5 separate regions of the Homo sapiens genome follow, and regions 2, 3, 4 and 5 are each linked to region 1. Evidence: promoter capture Hi-C in 16 types of primary human blood cells and fetal thymus (Javierre and others, 2016). All regions are on one chromosome and are shown on one strand. Each heading gives the region's core, a stretch centred on a gene start or on the middle of the fragment in contact. The rest is flanking DNA. Distances are from core to core; before and after follow the strand shown.

Evidence for each region. Contacts are between HindIII fragments. The CHiCAGO score rates a contact against its expected background, and 5 or more counts as called.
Region 2: a contact is called between the fragment with the promoter of RCE1 here and the fragment with the promoter of NPAS4 in region 1, in 1 of 17 cell types (erythroblasts). The highest score is 5.2, in erythroblasts.
Region 3: a contact is called between a fragment that was not itself captured here and the fragment with the promoter of NPAS4 in region 1, in 2 of 17 cell types (erythroblasts and M1 macrophages). The highest score is 7.1, in erythroblasts.
Region 4: a contact is called between a fragment that was not itself captured here and the fragment with the promoter of NPAS4 in region 1, in 1 of 17 cell types (erythroblasts). The highest score is 7.1, in erythroblasts.
Region 5: a fragment that was not itself captured here is called in contact with the fragment with the promoter of NPAS4 in region 1 in 1 of 17 cell types (M1 macrophages); the score reaches 5.2 in M1 macrophages.

What each region holds. Positions count from the first base shown.
Region 1 is chr11:66,419,512-66,422,404 of GRCh38, reverse strand. It overlaps NPAS4 (neuronal PAS domain protein 4), which reads right to left and starts at 1,370. Exons shown (of 8, transcript NM_178864.4): 1 at 1,051-1,370; 2 at 134-285. The coding sequence starts at 1,225. RefSeq lists silencers at 493-787, 481-795 and an enhancer at 728-1,324. The HindIII fragment of the contact is 6,351 bases long and covers 1-1,648 here.
Region 2 is chr11:66,842,009-66,844,901 of GRCh38, reverse strand. It overlaps RCE1 (Ras converting CAAX endopeptidase 1), which reads right to left and starts at 1,461. Exons shown (of 8, transcript NM_005133.3): 1 at 1,262-1,461; 2 at 1,041-1,143; 3 at 863-946; 4 at 538-616; 5 at 1-33. The coding sequence starts at 1,446. TOP6BL (TOP6B like initiator of meiotic double strand breaks) reads right to left here. Exons shown (of 15, transcript NM_001302084.2): 14 at 1,833-2,053; 15 at 1,386-1,733. The coding sequence ends at 1,668. RefSeq lists an enhancer at 884-1,590 and silencers at 1,231-1,670, 1,781-1,920. The HindIII fragment of the contact is 21,944 bases long and covers 696-2,893 here.
Region 3 is chr11:66,819,159-66,822,051 of GRCh38, reverse strand. TOP6BL (TOP6B like initiator of meiotic double strand breaks) reads right to left here. Exons shown (of 15, transcript NM_001302084.2): 10 at 288-409. Among named protein-coding and RNA genes, the nearest start is that of RCE1, 23 kb to the left of the region's middle. The HindIII fragment of the contact is 3,144 bases long and covers 1-2,893 here.
Region 4 is chr11:66,801,005-66,803,897 of GRCh38, reverse strand. TOP6BL (TOP6B like initiator of meiotic double strand breaks) reads right to left here. Exons shown (of 15, transcript NM_001302084.2): 6 at 2,796-2,867. Among named protein-coding and RNA genes, the nearest start is that of RCE1, 41 kb to the left of the region's middle. The HindIII fragment of the contact is 3,787 bases long and covers 1-2,893 here.
Region 5 is chr11:66,691,889-66,694,781 of GRCh38, reverse strand. It overlaps SPTBN2 (spectrin beta, non-erythrocytic 2), which reads left to right. Exons shown (of 38, transcript NM_006946.4): 22 at 419-643; 23 at 921-1,010; 24 at 1,336-1,596; 25 at 1,682-1,812; 26 at 2,042-2,246. Among named protein-coding and RNA genes, the nearest start is that of RBM4B, 15 kb to the right of the region's middle. The HindIII fragment of the contact is 9,386 bases long and covers 1-2,893 here.

The sequences.
Region 1 (2,893 bases), core at 121-2,620:
GCCAATCTTTGATCTACAGTATCTTGTAGGGTATAACCTCTCCCTCCATAGTAATTCCCAGTTCCTCAGGAGTGGAAGGCTCACGGCACCCACTCCATGCCCAGCCTCAGCTGAAAGGACCCTTAGCACTCACCATGGAGTGGCCCAGATGCTCGCTCACACTCTCAGACAGGTAGAGCAATTTCCCCTCGGCTGTGAACACAAGCAGAAAGCCGGGTAGTGCCGCTACGATGTCCTCAAGCTCTTGAGCTGAGAGAAGCCCCGTGGGGCCCGCCAGAGGAGTGCCTGTAGGGCGAGAAGACGTAGTGCGTCAGGAGTAAGACTGGGAGGCAGAGAAGAAGTGAGGAAGGCATGGTCTGAGTTTCAGAGAATCCAGAGGAATTTCTCATGGACCTGCCTCTGCAAACACCTGTTGACCCGCTGCCCGCAGCTCTTGGCCAGGGAACCTGTTGCTGTATCTCCATAGCCCACAAGCCCTCGACTTCTAAAGCGGGGTCGGCTCCTCTCGGCTCTTAATTTCAGAACCGCGGACAGAGCTCCAAAGCGGCTCTGAATTTCAGAACCGCGGACAGAGCTCCGAAGCCGACTGTGGGTTCAGAACCATGGACAGAGCCATACACGGCCGGCGCAGCCGTCAGCACCATGGGCAGCGCCCCGAAGGCGACAGGAGATCCCTTTCAGCACCGCGGACAGTAGCTATGTTCCCCTAGGCTCAGGCAGCTCCATCCCTGCAACTTCCCGGGCTTCCCTCCCCGGCTCCCGGAGCGCTTCTGCACTGGCGGGCACCGAGGCCGCTCTGTCCTGGCTCTTATCCTCTCATAATCTGGTGTTAGGGACACCGTCCAGGCTCTCTAACTCTCATTCAGAACTAAGGTGAGGTCTGGAGGGAGCTCAGGAGGAAAAGTAGAAAGTCCCGAATCTCCCGAGTCCCGAATCTCCCCAGCTCGCCAGCACGCTGCCCTAGACATGCGACAGCCCCAGCGGGTTCCCTCAGCTCCAGGGTCTCCGGCGCCTGGCAGCTCGGATCTGCGGTAGCCCCAGCATGCTCACCACCAGCGAAGAAGACGCCCTTGCGAGTGTAGATGCAGGCGAGGCTCATGATGTGCAGGTAGGACAGCCGGACCTTGTCCGCTTCGGCCAGCGGCAGCAGCTCCTTGAGGTTCCGGATCTCGGCGTTGATCTGGTCCCGGCGCGCCTTGGAGGCGCCCTTGGTGGAGCGGTACATGACCGGCGGCTGCGGAGCTCCAGCTCGGGTGCCCGAGCACCTGCGCTCCCGTCCCGACGCACCGGCGGCTTCCTCCTCCGTGCTTCCCCGTCTCTCGCTCAGGCTCGCTCTCTGCTCTCCTGGGCTCCGCTCGGCTGCGCTGCCCCCCTCGCCTGCCTCACGCCGCCTTATATAGCTCCTGCCAGGCGTGGGGGGCTCGTTTTAGAGCCGGGGGGGCGGGAGAGCGGGAGGCTGGGCTAAGCAAGCTGCAGCGGGAGCCGCTGACTGGGGAGGGGGGCTCCTCCTCCCGCCCGGCTTCCGACGTCATCTCATGACGTAGAATGAGAGAGGGAGGGAGGCGGGCGAGGGGGGAGCAGGAGGCTGCGGAGGGGGCCAAGCCTGGCGGGAGCTGAGCGGAGAGGAAGGCGCTGCGTTAGGAAAGCTTGAATGGAGTGTGGGGACCCTGGCGTCTGAATGCGTTCAGTTGAGGGAAGCGACAGGGCCAGGTTTAGGGCGGCCTGAAGCCCGCGGCAGGAGTCCGCAGAGGGCAGAGAGGGGCCGGCACTGACACTAATTTTTCTGAGGAGTTGAGGGAATGGGGAAGAACAGGGTTGTCTACAAATCCCCCTCGTTACTTGACAGACAAGGTCACGTTCACATGCAGGGAAGGAGGACTTTCCTTGGCCTCCGTGGGACAGGTCACTGCTGGGGTTCCTCTCTGGGGACTATTTAACCTGGGATTCCCTTGGCCATTTTTAGAGAACAAATTCCCGCCCCCGCTTCCCAAATCGGGCCTTGGCGGCTTATCAGGGGGTGTTCATGGGGGTCTAAGTCCCGAGGATGGGTGGAAAGGGAGTCCGGTGGGAAAGGGACCAGCTGAATTTGGCGTTGATCCTGTTTTCCCACAGCCAAGAATAGAAACCAACATCAGCGCTGTAGTCTGCAGTGATTCGTGGTTTCCCTCTCAGCTAATTAACCTTACTGAAGGGGAAACTGAGGCAGGGACGTGGGGGCACGGCGAGGACCTGGGTCTGCACTTAGGCATCCCTTCCCCCCGTTGCCGGCCCCCAAGCGAGCGCTTCCCCCCGCCCTGCTGCCAGCCTCTGTCTCCCCGCGGGCCGGGGGCGGGGGCGGGGCCGGGGGAATCCCAGCTCCATATTAGGACAGGAATCCTCCGGCGGCTGCCGCGGCTGCGGCGGGCGGGGCCTGGCTGCCTCCGCACCGCTCCGGAGGGCTCCCCGCCCTGCCTAGGCGGGCAAGATGGGGGAGCAGCTGAGAAGCGAAGGGGCAGCGCCGGACCCTCCATGACCCCTGCACCTACCAGGGACCCTGTATTTTTGCCAGGTTCCCTCCACCCCTCTCCACATTTGCGCCTCTAAGGCTCCTGGCTCTGCCTCTCCACCTTCAGCTCTCCACTTTCCACCTTCGTTTCTTTTTCTGTCCTTTCATATCCTTTTCTATCCTTTTCATATCCTGTCACCTTTGCCCTATCCCCACCCCCCCACACACCCGCTTTTTTTCTCTTTTCACCACAGATGATTGCTCTCTACAGGGGCGAGGATGTGCCGTTCTTATCCTGGGATTCAATAATGCAAGAAGCAAGTGGGCTAGGGAATGTTCTTATCTGAAATCTCGTTTGATGGAGTAGCTGTGTGCGCATGGAATCACTTAAGTGGCTGGAAATGAGGC
Region 2 (2,893 bases), core at 212-2,711, 420 kb before region 1:
TGTCTGTGAGGCAGCGGGCCCAGGAGCGGGGGGCTGCAGAGGGAATTCAGGACAAGCTGTGAGTGACGGGCTGTCAGACAGTGAGACCCCAGAGGCTCCAAGGGCTCCTCTCCCACAACTTTACCCTGGCCAAACTCAGGTTAGGCATCAATACTGCTGAGGACGGGGGTGTGGACCCAACATAAACCCAATGTCTTGAGATGACCTGAATGGAAGGCATTAGCTGAGGCAAGGGCATCCTGGAAGTAAACTCTGGAGACACCAAAATTTAAGCAAGACTAGCTCTGGTTGGGGAAGCAGGGGACAGTGCTCTCTGATCCACACCAAATACTGCTGGGGGTTCCCAGGGAACTCCTTGGACGTTGGCAATCAACCCTTAGAGGCCACCTAGCTCTATGTTTCCATTTTACTGATGAGAAAACACACCCAGAGAGATGACATTTCACGTGTCCAGATCACACCCTGAGCCCGCTGACTCCCTGCCCCAATGTCCTGGACTGCCTGTGCCTACTTTTCCCTTCAGCCTTTAAGACTCACCCAGGACAACCTTCAGCCCATCTGCCAGGTCACAAGGGCAATCCATAGAGAGCTGCATCAGTGGGCCCAGGAAAAGAATCTGAGGGCAAGAAAACACTTTCACCATAACCCACCGCTTTTGCCCAGACCTTTGCCCATGCTCCCTGAGACTCCAAGCTTGAAATCCTCTCCAGCCACGATTTCCAGACCATGCATACCGGAGGACCCTGGGGCCATCTCAAAAGTCCTGTCTCCCATCAACCAAAAACCAAAAACAAGAGTCCACGGCACTGCCCATCAGGCTGATAACAAAGACCAGAAGAAAAAATACAGCAGGAGCACTCACCATGGTCAGCAACAGGGGCAGCAGCGCCGCTGGGAAAATGCCCTCCAGCCTGAAGCCCATCAGGGTGAGCAGGGATGTGCCTGGCTGAGCCACAGGAAAGGGGGCATCAGTTTTGCTTCCTCCCCTAAAGACCCCTGAGCTCTCACCGCCGTTGCCCTTTGCCCCGCCTCCTTCGCACCTGGATGCCTGTGAGTTCCCTCCAGAGCAGCACGCACAGGGGTGAGAGACTGGACACCACCAGGACGCTGGTGAAGCGTCGCTTGATGACCGCGGGATGGTCCCTACGGAGGGGACAGTAAGTTCAGGGGGCCCGCGGCTGCCCATGAGCACGGACCCGCCCCCGGCTCGCCCAAGCTCCGCCCGCAGGGCGCGGATTCCGGTCGCGCGCAGCCCCCGCACCTGGGCAGTTCGCTCTTCCAGACGTAGAGGCTGCCCACGTAGGAGCAGGCGAGGCTGAGGCAGGAGAACACTGACACCCAGCAGCACAGCCCGGGGCCCAGGCCGCCCAGCGCCGCCGACTCGGGCGGCCGCTCCGGCCGCGACACCGACAGCAGTCGCAGCCCATCCCCGCCCAGCGCCGCCATTGCGCCCTGACCCGCGGCGCGCACCAGTGACGCAGTCCCAGGGAGGTGTGGGTGACGTCAGGCCGCGGCGCGGCTCCACGCCCCGCCCCGCCCCGCCCGGGCCCGACGCGGAAGCAGACGCGGAAGAGGACTTGGTGAGCGCGCGGCAGCTTTATTAAACCACGGGATAACGGCTGCCCGCAGCCTCCGGATCGGTGGGCGCTTGCGGAAGGGGACCCGGCTCAGGGCCCAGGGCTGGGACTCAGCCACTCTGACAGGTTGGAGACCTCCTGCAGCCACAGCACGTCCTGCGGGAACAAGGGGGCCCGGGGTGAGGACCTCTCAGCAGCGGCCCGTGGCCTGCACCTCCTGCTGAGCCCTTCCCTGCGCGGCCCTCGCCCAGTTACCTCCAGGCGGCTTCCGAGGCTCGCCCTGCCCGGCGCCAGGGCCCTGCCGTGAGCCTCGCGGTGCTCCCTTCCTCTAGGAGTGAGGGGGGCCGCGGTGGCTTCCGGGCGGCGCGGGGCGGCCTCTGACGGGCTCGGGGCCCTGGCAGAGCGCAGAGCTCGCATCTCCTCTATGCGGGGGCTGCCCCTCTTGAGCCTCTTGTTTTCTGCTTGCCCGCTGGTATCTAGGAGAAAAACAAGCCTCTTCATCTTACTTTCATGGCCCTGTGCTAGGAGCACCCTTGGCCAAGGGGAAGCCTGGGAGAACGGGCGCCGAGGGGCTCTTCCCACCGCATCCCTGTCAGCAGGTCCCATCCACACCAAAACCCTGCAGCTGTGGGCGCTTCTGGAGCAGCCCGAGGCTGCAGAGACGTTTCAGGGTCTCCCTATTCTCTCACCCAGGCGGGAGATTGTCCCGAGCCCTCACTTGGGGGACTCAGGCCGCTCAGTAACTTTCTGTATAGATTCTTCCTGGAGTCTGCACTGACAAGCTCCCCTCCCTGCCAGCCTCTGTCCCCCCTCACCTTTCTGGCCTCAGTTCTGTCTCCCTTTGTTGCTCACGTTGCATTGAGCAGTGCCCATAGGCAGCTTTCCTACTCTTAACTGATTCATTTGTCAAATTAAAGCGAGTTTAGATGGATAGATTCTTCCCCAGCAGGTCTTGGGGATGCAGATCAATGAGCTTTTCCCTGAGAGAAGCTCACAGATGCTAGGAGGGGATGCAGACCTGTGTACAAAGCCCAGGGTTAGAATAGAGAAGGAAGCCGACCACCTCTGGATGTGAAGAAGGGTTTCCATGAGGAGATACCTGAGCTGACCTTTTGTTTTTTTGAGACAAGGTCTTGCTCTGTTGCCCAGGCTGGAGTGCAGTGGCTCAGTCCTGGCTCACTGCAGCCTCGACCTCCTGGGCTCAAGCGATCCTACTGCCTCAGCTTCAGCTTCCAGAGTACCAGGAACCACAGGCGCATGCCACCACACCGGCTAATTTTTTTTACTTGTAGAGACAGGGGTCTCACCGTGTTGCC
Region 3 (2,893 bases), core at 112-2,611, 400 kb before region 1:
ATGCATAAGGAAGAGGTGTGTTATCAGCCATTTTTCCCTATTAACTATTTCCCTATTTACCCAAACACACCTACTAGGAGGTAAGACTAAGCAAGCTGGTTACAGTGATCCATCTAAGCTAAAGTTTGAGTTGTAGGCTAGATGCAGTGTTACAAGATCACCCAGGTGACAGAAGAGGAGAGGAAGGGGCATTAAGGGAGGAAGGGCTCCTGGGCCCTGCCTGCCATATATGCTTGCTATCTTTTTCTTAGAGAATAGGAGAAAAGAGGCTGTGAATTCCTTATTACCTTGGCAGCCTGGTGATGTTGCTCCAAGACCTTGTCCACAGTGAATTGGATGGAACCTTGCACTACACTGTGGCTCTCCACAAGGATGGCATTGAGATGAGTTGTGAGCAAAGTATAGACTCCTAAGGGGAGGGAGAAGGTAAAATTATCACTATATCTACCTCCCCTCACTGTGCATCTGCAAAAGCTAGTCTTAAATTACCAGATGTGGCCTGTAATCCCAGCACTTTGGGAGGCCGAGGCGGGCGGATCACGAGGTCAGGAGATCGAGACCACGGTGAAACCCCGTCTCCACTAAAAATACAAAAAATTAGCCAAGCACGGTGGCGGGCACCTGTAGTCCCAGCTACTCGGGAGGCTGAGGCAGGAGAATGGCGTGAACCCGGGAGGCGGAGCTTGCAGTGAGCCAAGATTGTGCCACTGCGCTCCAGCCTGGGTGACAGAGTGAGACTCCGTCTCAAAAAAAAAAAAAAAAAAATTACCAGATGTGTAAGATTTAAGACACTTGTTTACTAATACACTGATGAATTTCTTTTAAATCCAATACTGAGTACAACGACTGAGATACTGCAGGCCCTCAGAATCAAGCTAAACAGAGGTGTACAAATTATCACAGTAGTTCAGGAATGATAACACTGGTTTCTGAGGAATCCGAGTTCTTTAGAAATGTTCAGTAGGGCTCAGAACATGGTATCAGGCTTGCATTATCCAAGGATTAACCATGAGCGAGGATAACTACTTCAAGATTGCTGTTCATGTGCTTTGAGTCAGGACTGGGAGTGGGAAAGATGCCTCTTGGAAGAAGAGACCCCTACATATCCACAAATAATTACCTTTTTTTAGACAAAATCTCCCAGCAACTTACACACCTACCTAATTCCCACTCATAAATCTAAGAAAGCTCAGGAAAATTAAGGTGGAGAATGACATTATTTTTTAAAGAAACAAATAAGGGATCCTGTTTAATTCATAGCAGAAATATATACCATGTACTATAAACAACAATCCCAGTGACTCCCAAAGGAGAGGAGAAAGGGAGAAGCAAAGGTCCTATAGAGTGTGTCTAACCCTACTCTACGTCTATGTGAACATCACTGTTGTGGCAGTGCTTTCAGACGTACTGTGGTAAAGAAAAGGTTAAAATTCACAGAGATGACACAGAACTGTTGGTATGAGGTCCTTTTAAATGGGAGATTATCTCTGTTAAAGTAACCACAGGCACCACTGCTCAGTCTCATTCAGAAAAGCTAATATGTGAGAGCAACAGGCAAAAAAACTATGCCATCAAACAATAGGCCACCATTTAATGATCCCGATGCAGCAGGCACAGGAAGCCAAATTTACAGGTCACCTGGAGAAAATCCTTCTTGATTATTCTTTGTTTTCAGTGTTCAGAATTCTATGGGAAGCAGCCTAAAACTGGCTGGCTTTTTCCAGGACTGTATTAAAAATGCAAACCAGAAGAACATTTTCTACCACAAGGCACCATGATCCTTTCCTGGTAGGGAACGTAATATATGGTAAGCTCAAAAGGATTCTGGAGCTGGAGTCAGGGAGAACATAGATTCTAGGGCCAATTCTGCCATCAACTAGTGGTGATGAAATCTTTTCTTCAGTATAGAAAATGGCTTTATACCACCTGCTCTCACAGGTATGTTGTGTAGATAAACTGCGATAATGTACACAAAGTGTTTTGTGGGTTTTGTTGCCCAGCCTGGAGTGCAGTGACACGATCTTGGCTCACTGCAGCCTCGACCACCGGGGCTCAAGTGATCCTCCCACCTCAGCCTCCCGAATAGCTGGGACCACAGGTGTACACCACCACCATGCCTGGCCAATTTTTTTTTTTTTTTTTTTTTTAAGACAAGAGTTTTGCTCTTGTTGCCCGAGCTGGAGTGCAATGGCGTGATCTCGGCTCACTGCAACCTCCGCCTCCTGGATTCAAGTGATTATCTTGCCTCAGCCTCCCGAGTAGCTGGGATTACAGGCGCCTGCCACCACACCCAGCTAATTTTTGTATTTTTAGTAGAGACGGGGTTTCGCCATGTTGGCCAGACTGGTCTCAAACTCCTGACCTCAGTGTGATCCGCCCGCCTCGGCCTCCCAAAGTGCTGGGATTACAGGTGTGAGGGACCATGCCCGGGCAAATTTGTATATGTAGAGACGAGGTCTCGCTGTGTTGCCCGAGCTGGTCTTGAACTCTTGGGCTCAAGCGGTCCTCCTGCTTTGGCCCCTCAAAGTATTGGGATTACAGGAGCCAAGCCACAGTGCCTAGCCCATGAAGTGTTTTGAAATGTACACTGTACAGTTTCAAAATATTGCTATTGCTATGTTAATGTATCATCTAGATTGGTATTTTCCATAGTTTGGTTTTAAGAACAGCTTCAAGAAATCAGATCTCTTTTGAAAGCAGACATTTAATTTAAAAGTCAAAGTTCATTCCTAAAACTTTTGACCACCAAATGCTTTTGACATTGGGGAAAATAATGAGTTAGTCACAAGAAAAAAAAAATGAGTTAATCACAGAAAAGTTACCATGACAAGGTAGGTGGGCATAAGGCCAATTAAGTAATTTTCTTAAAGACACATGGAAACAGACTAACTTT
Region 4 (2,893 bases), core at 208-2,707, 380 kb before region 1:
ACAACCACACAACCTGCCATATCAGTTTTGTTGGAATAAATAACTTATGTCTCACTCAGGGAATCACAGCAATGGAAGTAGTAGAAAAACTGGCATTTCAGAGATATCATTGCTCCTGCTTTTGCTGCCACTAACGGATGCTTCTTAGTTTCTCTTTTTAAAAAAACATTTTAGACCAGGCATTGTGGCTCATGCCTGTAATCCCAGCACTTTGGGAGGCTGAGGTGGGTGGATCACTTGAGGTCAGGAGTTCAAGACCAACCTGGCCAACATGGTGAAACTCCATCTCTACTAAAGATACAATAGCTGTGCATGATGGTGCACACCTGTAATCCCAGCTATTCAGGAGGCTGAGGCAGGAGAATCGCTTGAACCTGGGAAGCGGAGGTTGCAGTGAGCTGATATTGCGCCACTGCACTCCAGCCTGAGCAACAGAGCGAGACTTTGTCTCGAAAAATAATTACTATTATTTTATTTTATTAGAGATGGGGTCTCACTATGTTTATTAGGCTGGTCTCAAACTCCTGGCCTCAAGCAATCTTTCTGCCTTGGCCTCCCAAAGTGCTGGGACTACAGGTGTGAGATATCATGACCAGCCTGTTTCTTATTCTCAAGTATACTTCCTCCACTAAAATTAATCTTTGGTTCTGAGCAAATTTCCAAATTCATTCAAAGGTCAGCATTGTGTGAGGGGGCCCATGAATCACAAATGGCCTAAAACTGGCCCCATGATACTTATAAGTCTGCTCTCACGCATGCTACACCTTCCGCTGAAGAGGTCTGAGGTTGCTGTTTGATAGTAACAATGAGAAAAAACCAGGCCATCTTTCTCTCCTAGAAAGAATCTAGTAAAATTTTGTTACTTTCCAATAGCTCTTTTCTAAACAGAGAGAAAACAGTCAACCTGAGAAAGCTGATTAAGAATGAATGAATTAATTAATAGAGAGGAAATATTAATGAACCTTTCCCTTTGTCTCTAATCAGGTCATCCAAGGAAACACATCTACAAAAATTGGCTCAAAGGCTTAAACTTGTGTCAGTACAACTATGATGATGAGCTGCTACCTGTAAGGATTGTTTATTATTAGAGGATCACTAAAGAAAGATATGGGGTGGGGAAATTATTACCTGCATATTAAATGACAAAAATATTCTCATCTGAGGTGTAATTTTGGGTGAGAATAAGAAAACAGACTAAGAACCACAGGCAGTCTCTTTAAGCCTTAAGAGACTTTGACTACTAGTGTTGCCTCTGGGCACATAAATAGAGGCAGAAACTAATGAATAAAGACTAAATTAGGGCTGGACACATTGGCTCACATCTGTAATCCCAGCTCTTTGAAAGGCCGAGGCAGGAGGATTGCTTGAGTCCAGGAGTTTGACACCAGCCTAGGCAACAACCTCATCTCTACAAAAAAAAATTTTTTTTAAATTAGCAGTATATGGGCTGGGCGCAGTGGCTCATGCCTGTAATCTCAGCACTTTGGGAGACCGAGGCAGGAGGATCACGAGGTCAGGAGATTGAGACCATCCTGGCCAACATGGTGAAACCCCATTTCTACTAAAAATACAAAAAAATTAGCTGGGCGTGGTGGCATGCACCTATAGTCCCAGCTACTCAGGAGATTGAGGCAGGAGAATCGCTTGAACCAGGGAGGTGGAGGTTGCAGTGAGGTGAGATCTGCACTCCAGCCTGGGCGAAAGAGCGAGACTCCGTCTCAAAAAAAAAAAAAATTAGCAGCGTATGGTAGCATATTTCTGTGGTCCTAGCTACTAGCTACTCGAGAGGCTGAGGTGGGAAAATGACTTGAGCCCAGGAGACCAAGGCTGCAGTGAGCTATGATGGCATCTGGGTTGAACAGACTGAGACCCTGTCTCAAAAAAAGAAAAAATAAATTAATTGGACTTAAGCATATGTTAGGTCTTTTCTTGACATAATTCATTTTCACTTTGGATTCTGTGGTAGTTAAATGGCACAGGAAGGCAAGACAGAAGGGCTCTGTGTGTTCCATATTGTTTACCACCTCCTCCATGGATTTTTTACATTTTTTATTTATTTATTTTTTTTGAGACAGAGTCTTGCTCTGTCGCTGGAGTGCAGTGGCGTGATCTCGGCTCACTGCAACCTCCACCTCCTGGGTTCAAGTGATTCTCATGCTTTGGCCTCCCAAGTAGCTGGGATTACAGGCATGTGCTACCATGCCCAGCTAATTTTTGTATTTTTAGCAGAGACAGGGTTTTGCCATGTTGGCCAGGCTGGTCTCAAACTCTTAACCTCAAGTGATCCATCAACTTCAGCCTCCCAAAGTGCTGGGATTATAGGCATGAGCCACTGCGCCTGGCCAGATTTACTTTCTTGGAGTCTGAAGAAGATGGAGATGGGCAGAGAGATGATTTCCAAACCTATGCAAAATGCTGATGCACAGAAAATAATGTACACTGAATTCCTTTGTATTCATACTATCTCTCTAGCCAAGAATTCAAGTAAAGTTTTAAATTCATAGTCTTCTCTTCTCATGCCTAAATGGGATTGGAACTAGCAGGGTCTGTGTAAAATAAGGCCTGAAGAGAAGAAGGCACATGTCTTCAGGTCATTTAGAATAGATTCAAATACATAAATAACTTAAAATAGCAGTTTTCAACATAAAAAAAAGTTTTACTTCTGCTTTTCTTATAGAGAAGCTGACACCTGGCACTTACAAATGACAAGTGAGACAATTTCCAATTTCTACCCACATTCGTACTCGAGAGGAGAGTAAAACATGCAGAGGGACAACAAGGCTTTACGCCTTCACCTCACATAATGCTGGGAGTCGACCAAAAGAGCAATTCCATTCCCAAGGTTCAAAGTGGGTTCATTCTCCACCCTGCAAAGCAAAGCAAAGCTAAGCCA
Region 5 (2,893 bases), core at 180-2,679, 270 kb before region 1:
AGTTCCAGTGTCTCAAAGCAGGGCCACGATGGATTGGGGATGGAGAGACAATGAATTGATAATGGGCACAGTTATCACACTACCCTGGATTTTTTAATTTCAATCTTTTAGATTCGCGGGTGTGGGTGCAGGTTTGTTATAAGTTATATTGTGTGATGCTGAAGTTTGGGGTGTAATTGAACCCATCACCCATGTAGTGAGCACAGTACCCAATAGGGATTTTTTCAACCCCTGCCCTTGGATTCTTGTGCATATAAAGTTCGAGATCCACTGATCCAGCCCATGAGGGGATGCTCTCCCTGGGTGAGCTGCAGTGATGAGCAGCCACAGTGGGCTGGATAGAGACTGGTTGGTGTCTCTGCTGGGCATGAAGGCGGAAATGCAGAGCTAACATGTCCTTCCTCCTGGCGGTTTGCAGATGCTGGAATGGGAGATGGCTGTGAGAGAGAAGGAGGTGGAGGCAATCCAGGCCCAGGCCAAAGCACTGGCCCAGGAGGACCAGGGTGCAGGGGAGGTGGAGAGAACCTCGAGGGCCGTGGAGGAGAAGTTCAGGGCCTTGTGCCAGCCCATGCGGGAACGCTGCCGGCGCCTGCAGGCTTCTCGCGAGCAGCACCAGTTCCACCGCGATGTGGAAGATGAGATTGTGAGTCACTGGGGCCAAGGACGGCAAGCTGCCCCCAGCCATGTGGTTCTCCAGCCTCCCTCCTGGATGCCAGGGAGATGCCAGCAGGGCTCTATTCCCTCTTCTCTTTGGCATTGACCATCTCCCCTATAGGGAGACTTGGAGATGCCTCCCAGAACCAGAGATGACTGTTCCCCACACACAGGGCGGTAGCCCCAGGTGTCCCCACTCCCACTAATCAGTCCCTGCTGCTTGCCTTGCCCTCTGGGCCTCCACTGACCCCCTCTTCCTCTTCCAGTTGTGGGTGACAGAGCGGCTGCCCATGGCCAGCTCCATGGAGCATGGCAAGGACCTGCCCAGCGTCCAGCTTCTCATGAAGAAAAACCAGGTGAGGCAGAGGCTGAAGGCAAAAGAGAAGTTCCCAGGAGCCTGCCCAGACTTGGACGTGTTTTTTCTTAAGACCAGGCCCCCCTCGATGCTGAGTGTAACCCTGGACTTCAGTGGCTGTCTTTCCTCACCTTGGGAGGGTGGGTCCTCTCAGTAGGAGATAGTGGGGGCTGGGCGGCTGACGGGTGTTACCATCGCACCCCCAGGCTAGGAGAGGGAGCAGAGGACCCAGGAAGGAGAGAGGCACAGGGGTGAAGGGTGGTCTCCGGGAGCACGTGGGGCTGGGGCAGGACTTTCAGCATTTTCTCTTCTGTGGCCATGGGCAGACCCTGCAGAAAGAGATTCAGGGCCATGAGCCCCGGATCGCGGACCTGAGGGAGCGGCAGCGTGCTCTAGGTGCAGCAGCAGCAGGTCCAGAGCTGGCTGAGCTGCAGGAAATGTGGAAACGCCTGGGCCACGAGCTGGAACTTCGAGGGAAGCGACTGGAGGATGCCCTGCGAGCCCAGCAGTTCTACCGCGATGCCGCCGAGGCGGAGGCCTGGATGGGCGAGCAGGAATTACACATGATGGGCCAGGAGAAGGCCAAGGTGAGGGCCAGGACAGAGCCCAGTGTATGTGACCAGTTCTGCCCTCCCCTGACCTGATGCTGGATGCCACTGTCCCTTCCCCCAGGATGAGCTGAGTGCCCAGGCAGAGGTGAAGAAGCACCAGGTGCTGGAGCAAGCCCTGGCCGACTACGCGCAGACCATCCACCAGCTGGCGGCCAGCAGCCAGGACATGATTGACCACGAGCACCCAGAGAGGTGGGTGCAGCGGCAGCCCGGCCCAGCCTGGGGGTGGAGCCGGCTGCAGGAACAGGAAGGTGCAGGGAATGTGGAGCCTTCAGTGCTGTGTGCACGGAGCCTTCTAGAAAGCTGGAACACAGGGTGGGCGAGCTGTTGGGAGACTCAGAGGGACAGGGCTCCACAGAACAGACCGGAGGTCAGAGCTACACCCCTAAGTCCCACAGTGCCTCCCTCACTCTTCTTGCAGCACTCGGATATCCATCCGCCAAGCCCAGGTGGACAAGCTGTATGCCGGCCTGAAGGAGCTGGCTGGAGAGCGGCGGGAGCGCCTGCAGGAGCACCTCCGGCTGTGCCAGCTCCGCCGCGAGCTGGATGACCTGGAACAGTGGATCCAGGAGCGCGAGGTGGTGGCGGCCTCCCACGAGCTGGGCCAGGACTACGAGCATGTGACTGTGAGTGTAGGGAGGGCACCCAGCTCAGATCAACCGTGGGAAGAGTGGAGGACCCACAGGGAGACTAGGACCTAGTCCCAGGCAGAGCACTGAGGGGCTAAGGGGCAAGACCAGGCTGAGCAGGCACTGTCCTCCTGGTTTTGAGGTATATGATTTGAAGAGGCCGGGCATAGGCTCACACCTGTAATCCTAGCACCTTGGGAGGCTGAGATGGGAGGATTGCTTGAGTCCAGGAGTTCAAGACCAGCCTGGGCAACATAGTGAGACCCCCCATCTCTACAAAAAAAATTTTTTTTTATTAGCCAGGCACAGCCGTGCATGCCTGTAGGCCCAACTACTTAGGAGGCTGAGGTGGGAGGATCTCTTGAGCCTGGGAGGTCGACACTGCAGTGATTGCGCTAGTGCACTCCAGAGCAAGACCCTATCATCTCTAAATACATACACACACACACAATTTGAAGAATTGTACAGAAAGGGGACATGAAGCTGAGCTGAGACAAGGGCAAACAGGAAATTATCACTCACACTTTTCAACAGAATTCAACAAAACGGAGTATGATCCACCCCCCCGACAGTTTGGGGGCTTGGACCCTCAGTCGTACAGAAATATGGACCATAGTTAGGGTATCCTTGTCTGAAGCCTAAGG